3 separate regions of the Homo sapiens genome follow, and regions 1 and 2 are each linked to region 3. The links are contacts of gene promoters, found by promoter capture Hi-C in blood cells and fetal thymus (Javierre and others, 2016). All regions are on one chromosome and are shown on one strand. The core of a region is centred on a gene start or on the middle of the fragment in contact, and the rest is flanking DNA. Distances in the headings are between cores, read along the strand shown.

Region 1 (3,071 bases), core at 403-2,902, 540 kb before region 3:
GTAGAGGGAGGCAAGAAAGGTGCTGGCATACAGGCCAGGCGTGGTGGCTCACGCCTGTAATCCTAGCACTTTGGGAGGCCAAGGCAGGTGAATTGCTTGAGCTCAGGAGTTCGAAACCAGCCTGGGCAACATGGCGAAACTCTGTCTCTACAAAAAAATACAAAAAAATTAGCAGGGCATGGTGGTGCACCCTTCCAGTCCAGCTACTCAGAAGGTTGAGGTGGGCGATCACCTAAGCTTGGGAGCTCCAGTGAGCTGTGATTGCGCCACTGTACTCTAGCCTGGGTGACAGACTGAGAACCTGTCTCAGGTTAAAAAGTAAAAGTACTGACATACAAAAAAAGTGGCAGCAGGATTTAGGTCCTAGTCTTATGGTGGACTATTGACACTGTATCTTCTCATCTGTGAAATCGACCCTGCCCTAATTCCCCTACAAGGCTCAGCAGCTAGTGATCTGAGTATGCAAAGAGCTCGGCTGTTGGAAACAGGCAAAAAACAGTGGTAATGACCTGTTGGGAGTTCAATGGTGCTAGGATGTTGGGAGGTCAGGCATTGATACACACTGTGTGGCTGCTGGGGCATTAGAAGCTTCCATCTCTGGAACCCTGTCCTATGAGCTTATGATGGTTTTCGTGTGGTCAGATGAAGGCTGTGAGGTCTCTGCTTCTGTAAGCAGAGGTCCAAGGACCAAAGCCAATACAAATAGCTCCTAGGCTTGAGAGTCAGTTTTTCGCTGCATGCCCCATGCCTGGGGTAGAGTGTTCTGATCCTGGTTTCTCCAGGCAATGAGAAAAATGTCCCTTGCAATGCCATTCAGGACTGTGTGATGGCCAGTCCCACCCACCCATGGGCACACAGCCATGAGGCAGTAAGAGGATGACGCCTGAAGCCAGACTGCCAGGGGCTGAATCTCAACTCTGACACTTATTGTACAACCTTGGGCATGTTACTTATTCTTTCTGTGCCTTGATTTTTCCTCATTGGAAAATAAGGATCATGATGACAGTACCTATTTCATAGGGTTGTTAAGGATTAAGTGAGCTGCTATTAGTTAAGTTCTTAGAATGATTTCTGGCTCGTAATGATATATAAGTATGTTTGTTAACTAGATAAAATGTAAAGATAAATCAGCATCAGCTGCACAGTAAACAAATGTCATTACCTGCAAGTGGGATTAGTACAAATAGTTTCACATAATTAGTATATGCTCCTGATTTTAATCCTATACCCTTGTAGAGAAACAGCCTTCTCAGAAAAGGCAGAGTCAAACCAGAGTCTAACTCTACAAAGTAAAATATTATCTGTCTCTAAGACATCCCCCAGCTACCCATTAAGTACACCATTAGACAATGTCATCAAAGCACTGTCAGAAACCACCCTGTTGGAGGAAAAACAACATTAGAATGGCAGAAGCCCAGGAATGGAAGCCTGATGCTGCCACATCTCTGAGCTGTGGAATGCTATCCGAGGTGAGATGTTCTTATAGTGAAACAGACAGGGTGTGTTTTTTAATTAATACAATGATGGAAACCATTCTCTTTGTTTAGTGCCATACAGTTCACTAAAGAGGAAGAAATACATTTTGCCAGTAAATCTATTCAGATTTTTCAATCTGGAAATCAGAAAGAAAGCTACATGGAACCAGATAGCATTTTGAGAACGGCAGAAAAAAGGTAGAAGAGCTCCAGAGCACTAGTTGCTGCCAGGGGCATGTGTCAGGGAGGAGAGCCAGCTGAGTTTGGGTGGGGGAAGTGCAGATCTCCGCAGCTGTGTTACAGGGGAGAAGGGAACACCTACTGAACGACTGTCTTTTGACAAGTCCTGAAACAAACCCACACACAAAGAAATTGTTGTGGGGGTGGGAGGGAAACGGGGACCAAAGTTAGGGAGTACCCACCCTGCCACAAGCCCACTGCCTGTACAGTCAGGCTCACCTAAAACATCCTGTTTTTGCCGCAGATCACAGCACCCTAAACCCAAGTCTGCATCTAGTGCTGTCAAAATACCAAAACATACAACAACTACAAATCTGCTCTTCGAAGAATTCAACAGGACCTCCCTGGCACTCCTTCAAATGGGAGGATGGGCAAATGCAAAACAGCAGTAATGTGTTGGGAGGGTGGGACCATGGATAAATTGCAGGTATGCATGTCGAGAGAAAAGTAAGAGAGGCAAGGAGGATGAAGCACTATGTGGCTATTTCTACTACTCAGCTACCCACTGTCACAAGTGCTTAGAATAATCATTTTGAATAAAAGAAAAGACGGATCCAATTGAAAGTTGCTTTGTTCTGCTTTCAGCTGTAAAAGATTTAGTTCTAGACCCTAAACTCATTTAAAAAACCACTATATGAAGACAAAGAATAAAAAATAAACACATAAGTTTAAAGCAATCTGGAGTTTTTTTTAAGGCAAGTATGTTATAGAAAATTCAAGAAGTTATGATTACTCAAAAATTTTGAGCTATTTATTAACATTTATCAAAAGCTATTCTTTTCATTGCAGAAAATCAGCATATTTAAGTCAGTAGTTACAGTCATACTCTGTGACTGTAATAGGCCAGTTATTTAGCATTTAGGCAAACAAACATAAAGGAAAAGTGTCCTTCAGAGATTTTCTCTCTTCTTTATTGTTAACCCACTTGGTAAGCAAACTAATTTAAAAAGTATTATCAGAGTCAAGTAAAGGAATCTGTAACAAGAAGCCAGGGAGGAGGACCAAGCTTGGCCTAAACGATAAAGGGTTTGTAAAAGCACTTTGTATGCAAAGAATCATATATATGATGATAATGATCATCATCATCACAGTCAAAACAGCAGGATAAGAAATGTCAACTAGGCCCTTCCAGAAAGTGGTTATTGCAGAAACAACACACAAGCATCTTATGTTAACAAGAAAAGGTCAAAATGAGGAAAACAGCAAAGCCATGGTGAAAAGGTAAGCAGTTTGGGGAAACAGCCCCAAGTGATGTGAAAACAAGAGTGTTTTCTAGATGTGGACGTTTAAGTGTGGTGCATATGAGCAGACAAACTCTGCGAGCTAAAGATATGGGACTTAATGTCTGAGGAGATA
Region 2 (3,079 bases), core at 298-2,797, 580 kb before region 3:
GGCGTAGCAGTGCATGCCTGTAATCCCAGCTACTCAGGAGGCTGAGGCATGAGAATTGCTTGAACCCAGGAGGTGGAGGTTGCAGTGAGCCAAGATTGCACCACTGCACTCCAGCCTGGGTGATAGAGCAAGACTCTGTCTCAACAAGAAAAAAGAAAACTGATATTTACACAATTAGCTTTAGTGCTAAATAAGGATGATTGGCAAGAGGCAAAGTTTTACCAATAAGGAAAAAAATTAGGGACAAAAAAAATAAAAGAAGACAGGAAGTCTTCCATTTTAAATTTACTATTTGACAACTATCATTCCCCTATATACAACACCTTTTATTACTGTATCAGTATAGTTTTACGTAACTTACAGTAGCTGAGAAAACCTGGAATCATAAATACAAATTAACTCCCAAAATAGGTATCAAGTTTGGGTCTTCTACCCAAACAACGAGGTATTTTTCAGTTAAAACAAGAAACAGGTTGACAAAAAGACCCAAGCTAACGAAACTGAATAAAAGGCAAGGAGGCAAAGTAGGCATAAACTAAACTATTTATTTACATGTTCCATTGCTTTAAGTCCTCTGATAACCCCCCCCCCTTTTTTTTTTGAGACAGAGTCTCGCTCTGTTGCCCAGGCTGGAGTGCAGTGGCGCGATCTCGGCTCACTGCAAGCTCCGCCTCCCAGGTTCAAGTGATTCTCCTGCCTCAGCCTCCCTAGTAGCTGGGACGACAGGTGCGTCCCACCACGCCCGGCTACTTTTTTGTATTTTTAGTAGATATGGGGTTTCACCGTGTTAGCCAGGAAGTTCTCTGATATTTCTAATGTACAAAAATGACTCACAAATAGAAGATCACTTACCAAAATGAACAGTAGATAAAATGATGTAATTAAAGTTTTGCATTGAAAACAAAAACAAAGTCTAGTACAGACCTGAAAGATGGTCTTTCTTTACAGGAATTTCTGAAACACAATTGACTAAAAATGCTTCTCTATCTCTATTTACTGCAAAATAAAGAGTCAAACTTTTTAAAAATCAAATCTCATTGTCAAGATTTCACCAAGTTGTGGGGAAAATATCCATTTAATTTGAATAAACTTGTACAGTTCCAAGATAAAACATTCTCATGACAAATTTGTGATAAATGGATTTCCTTTAATAGCCAGGAAGGTCTGAAGAGAAAAGGCTTATTTTAAAATAAAATTTGTGATATTATTATTTATAATATGGATTAAAAATAAAACTTTGATTAATTCATATGAACACTATTTTAGAGATATAGTAAAGATGAATAAAAATCAAAAGATAAAATGTTCTGGGATGGATTTAAGATCCACTTTTAAGAACTCAAATTATCCCAGTGTAAAACGTCATGATTTTGATGCCAGAGACTTTAAAGAGCTAGCAAGGGCTGCCCTGCCAGAGGGGAGTTATGAAAGGATAGAAAACCTGATCTTAATCAAAGATCTCAGAGACCTATAAATAGAAACAGGTGTCTAAATCAGAGACAGACAGAGACCCCAAATAAGAACCATCCTTTAGGACACATGCTCGGATCTGGGGATTGTTAAGGGAGCTGAGAAAGTAGCAATTGTTGGAAATGTGCATTAAGAATAGGAAGCATACCTTCATATCATATCCTCACTCTCTGTATTCAGCAGGAAAGTAATTCCCACTGGAGGGCCAGGGGGCCCTTAACTCAAAAAAGAAAAAAGAAAAAACTAAGAGTTGCATACAAGCTGAAATAAAAACATCAGCCCTTCTTTTCCTCTGATTTCTTCTTTTAAAGAGTCAGGGAAAATGATCATCAGTTTTTAAGGCGGAGTTCTTCCAAGATGATGGGAATCACTCATCTGCCATGATCTGGCTTGGGAAAGCATTGTAATTATTGTTATTAAGTGTCTAAGAATCCACAGGGAGATAGGGCATTGTACACAGGACACCAAAAAAGCTATAATCTATCACCACATCCTCCCCTGGAAACCCTGGTGACTTGCAGATTGGAAATAGCTGCATTTTGAGGCTATCCAATGGGAATCGATAATGTAAGAGGGCCTGCTTCCCTCCTGTTCACATGGACTGGAAATCTCCTAAATGTTTTCTGTTATAAATGCTCAAATTTATTAGGTTCAGAACAGACCTGGTAAAATTATCATCGACAATAGCTAACACATGATCCTCTATGTTTCACAAGGGTTGTTAGATCCTCCTCAACTGAATGTTCATTTGCCAATCATGAATTTCTTGAGAGGTTGCAAAAACAAACACAGGGTCACAAATTAAGAGGCTACCACACAGATATGAAGAGCATCAACAAATTAAGATGAAACATTTCTAAAATTATAATGATAACGTGACTATGGTGAAAATGTAATTTAAATTAGAGAAACTCAAACTTTTCTTACCACTCTTCAGCCATCTAACTGAAATCACTTCAATCCCATACAAAGTACTTGGAAGGACTGACTATGTATGTCTTTTGGCTGACAGTTGGATAAACAATCTTAGAGTGTCTATCCTAGTTGTAGCCTGCTGCCTGGTACATAACAGGGGCTCAGAAAAATATCATAGCATTGGTGAAAGAATGAATGAAAAGAAAAGGGCAACCCAGAAACCTGGCAGGTGTACACTTGGAGATTTGGAGAACAGTCTTTCTAGAATCAAGACTCCTCAGGATCATATACATTCTTCCATGTAAAGCCTCATGGTAGAACAGCTCTGCTTCTGTCCTGGAAGGAGTGGCCACCTCTGTTTGCCAGGACGGTCCCCCAAAGGCCTTGCTGTAGCTCCCTAAAGAGCTAAACGCTTTCCTGTTTCAGAGGCGGCACACACATGCTACTCCATCTGCATGTGGGGGAGTCTACCTCTCCCCATTCGTCTCTACTTACTCTCACATCTCAGCTTAAATACAGTTTCCTCAGAGGGGCCTGCCCAAGCCCCTACTGTTCTTTCTCACTGAATCTTATTCCCTACATTCACAGTATTTATCATAATTTTTATTACATATTTATTGGCTATTTATTTGTCTAATGTCTGTATTCTGTCATAAAACTTGAAGCTCCAGAAAGGGGCTGTACCTATTTTGGC
Region 3 (3,173 bases), core at 487-2,986:
CAGACTATACTACACTTTTTGAGTTTATTTCCCTTCCCAGGAGCCACTTTTGTCATATGTAAAGCAGTTATACTAGTATTTACCTAACAGAATTGTCATGAAGAGTATATAAGCACAAATGTAAATCACTTAACATAGTACCTGCCAAGCAGTGGTTAATTAATGTTAGATTCCTTTTTAAGCTATAAAGGAAATTTAAAAACCTTTAATCCCTATGTTTTTCCAAAGCAAAATGTTTTATTTTTATTTTTTTCTTCATACCAAAGCAAAATATTTTAATTGTTCCAAAGTGTTCCTTACTTATAAAACTGTGGGAATTTCAGAAACATTCTGCTTTACAGTGCCCAGAGAAACTTCCTACATATAAACGCTGGTTTTGGTGTAAATGCATTCATTATTGGTGTTATCATTGGCCTTTACATAACCTAAGATTCGTGTGGCTCCGTTAAGACATAGGCAATATGACTCTGGGAGAGACTCTCACTAATGAACAGTAAGGGCAGCAAGCCTCAACTGTACTTAGAATTGGATACTACAATGTTTTGATAGTATTTTCATTACCGTCTTCAAGCAATTTCTTAACAATTGAGTTGTTAGCTAATTAGAAGTGCAGAACCAATACATGGCATCCTGTAAAAATAACCACGGGCTTAGTAACAAGCAAATAAAAAAATATAAAAACATTGGCTCTATAATGTGTCAATATGCTCTGGACTTATGTAATCAGTGACTCTTAACTCTTGCTCCAAAAGGAAGTTAACATTTGTAGAGTCTTAAAAGATTATATAAAAAAGAAAAGCAAAACAGAAAACAAAAAATCTTTTAGACCTTCTAGTCCATCCCTAATGACTAATTCTCCATCATATATTTTCATCTATTTGGATTGTAAATGTTGCCCAGACCAGAGATGGCGGTGGTTCACACTAGGGTGTCAGTGGTGGAATGGTGAGGGGCAGATGAATTGGAGATATTTTGGTAGTACAGCCAAAGAGACCTACTAATATTTTGGATGCAGAAGGTTAGTAAGGAGAGAAATCCAGACGACTTTAAGATTTTTGGCCAGAGGGATTTTACCTTTTAGCGACATACAGATGACCAAGGGAAGAGCAAAGTTGAGAGGATGAGTTATTCAAAATAGTATTATGGTCACGCCAAGCTATCAGCATTAAGGCATCCCTGTAGAGATGTCCTGTTGACATTTGTGATCCAGGCTGGATGTTTAAAAAAAATTGGTAACATATTACTTTAGCAACTATTATTAATTCTTATTATTACCACGACTACATCGGGAAGTAAAAGCTCAGCAGCCTCCGGCTTTTCCTAACCCTTGAAAAAACCTCTAATATAAAAGGCATTTATATCCAAAAGTTCCCATTCATCTCCCGCTCTGGGAACCGGGAGCGCCCCCTGTCCAATCAGCTTTCAAATCCCCTGCGTCAGCGAGTGGGCGGGGCTCACCTAGATTCCTTGGCCTCCGCTTCTCCGGCTTGGCCACGTTAGAAGTCCCGCAGGTCCTTGAAGGTACACAAATCACCTATATATCCATTAGAAAAATGTAGAGTACATTATCACAATGTAAGTTTAATTAGATTAAATAATTTACAACACTTTATTCATATCATTTATTTGTTTTATTTAGTTTCTTATTTTCTTCTATGAGTATAGTAACCACCTCCGAGCTTTACGGATCTGCGGGTCCTTTCCTCGCGCACGCGCACTTGTTAGGGAGGGCGGGCCTGTTTCCGGGAGGCGCGTGGGGCTTGAGGCCGAGAACGGCCCTTGCTGCCACCAACATGGAGACTTTGTACCGTGTCCCGTTCTTAGTGCTCGAATGTCCCAACCTGAAGCTGAAGAAGCCGCCCTGGTTGCACATGCCGTCGGCCATGACTGTGTATGCTCTGGTGGTGGTGTCTTACTTCCTCATCACCGGAGGTAACTCGGGCTGTCGGGCCCGAGAGGCTGAGGAGCGGAGAACTGACCCGCCCCGGGAGGCGCGTCTGTTCCGCTGACTCTCAGCCCCGGGGGAAGCATAGCTCTGCTTTGGATCTTTTCTGAGGGTGGAGGGGAGTTCTGGGGTCCGAAGTGTTAACGTCCAAGTTTATTCGCCTTCACGCCCTGTCTTAAGAGAATTCGTGTTCTCACTCCCATTGCCTTTCTTCTCCTTCTAGCCCTCCCATCCCAGGGATCCGAGTCAAATATATTTTTCAAGGCCAAATTGTTGCTCTTTTTGTTGCTTGCCATACGTTGTTTGATAAATGTCCTGGGAAAGCCTAATTTGGCAAACTCCGTTTCCATGGTTGGTTGTTTGATAAAGGTCCTGGGAAGGTCTAATTTGGCCAACTCCGCTTCCATGGTTGGTCAAGAGCTTGTGGGACTTTTAAACTTATCTTTGTCCTGGAATCTTGGAAGAGACTTGACAATCTTTAGTTTTGTTGGCTCAAACCTAGGGTTCTGTGTTGCCTTTTGCATGACCTACAATAAATATCAATGGAATTTTCTGAAATCACAGGTTTGATAAATATTTGAGATTGGAGATGAGATTTGCAGACGATACTGTATTTCAGTGGGCAGAAGTTGAGAATTAAAAAAATAAGATAAATAGCATTACTATTAAACGCTTCTGAATTGTCTATCATCTTATTCTGTCCTTTTCAAATAGAAAATTGCAAAGGGGCGTTGCCTTATGTACTGGTGAGTTGGCAATCCGGCTAGTCTTTTCAGAGCCACTACCCTTTCAGGCCACAGTTCCAAGATTTACTTAGAACTGTGCTACTGTGTACATTTAGATTTGGGGAAGTGGTGTACTTAACTTGGAAATTATAAAATTAATTTAGATTTTGGGAAGTGGTGTACTTAACCTGGAAATTATAAAATTAAAGCTACGGATTTGGGATAGCAAAAGTAGTTCTACTTTTAAGGGAGTGGCCATATAATTGTTATTTTCATAGATGTTTTGTGAGAATAGTTGGCACTGAAGGGGGAGGATTCAAACTGAGAGAGCTGAGTTCTAGAAAGCACCTTTGAATTTACCTCCTTCCCCCAATCTAGAATAGTGAGAATTAACTTACGTTCATTTAAATAAATTACATTTAAATATTTGAGTTACATTTAAATACTTATTTGGTAACAAGATACTATCTAGCATTGCATTAGCATTAACCATTAACATTTGC

The links. Contacts are between HindIII fragments. The CHiCAGO score rates a contact against its expected background, and 5 or more counts as called.
Region 1: a fragment that was not itself captured here is called in contact with the fragment with the promoter of OSTC in region 3 in 1 of 17 cell types (fetal thymus); the score reaches 5.2 in fetal thymus.
Region 2: a fragment that was not itself captured here is called in contact with the fragment with the promoter of OSTC in region 3 in 1 of 17 cell types (fetal thymus); the score reaches 6.0 in fetal thymus.

Annotation. Positions count from the first base shown.
Region 1 is chr4:108,111,598-108,114,668 of GRCh38, forward strand. The region is part of intron 3 of LEF1 (lymphoid enhancer binding factor 1); the gene reads right to left. Among named protein-coding and RNA genes, the nearest start is that of LEF1-AS1, 54 kb to the right of the region's middle. The HindIII fragment of the contact is 2,133 bases long and covers 587-2,719 here.
Region 2 is chr4:108,073,243-108,076,321 of GRCh38, forward strand. The region is part of intron 8 of LEF1 (lymphoid enhancer binding factor 1); the gene reads right to left. Among named protein-coding and RNA genes, the nearest start is that of HADH, 85 kb to the left of the region's middle. The HindIII fragment of the contact is 8,586 bases long and covers 1-3,079 here.
Region 3 is chr4:108,648,863-108,652,035 of GRCh38, forward strand. It overlaps OSTC (oligosaccharyltransferase complex non-catalytic subunit), which reads left to right and starts at 1,737. Exons shown (of 4, transcript NM_021227.4): 1 at 1,737-1,932. The coding sequence starts at 1,794. RefSeq lists enhancers at 1,677-2,026, 2,641-2,690. The HindIII fragment of the contact is 4,127 bases long and covers 1-3,173 here.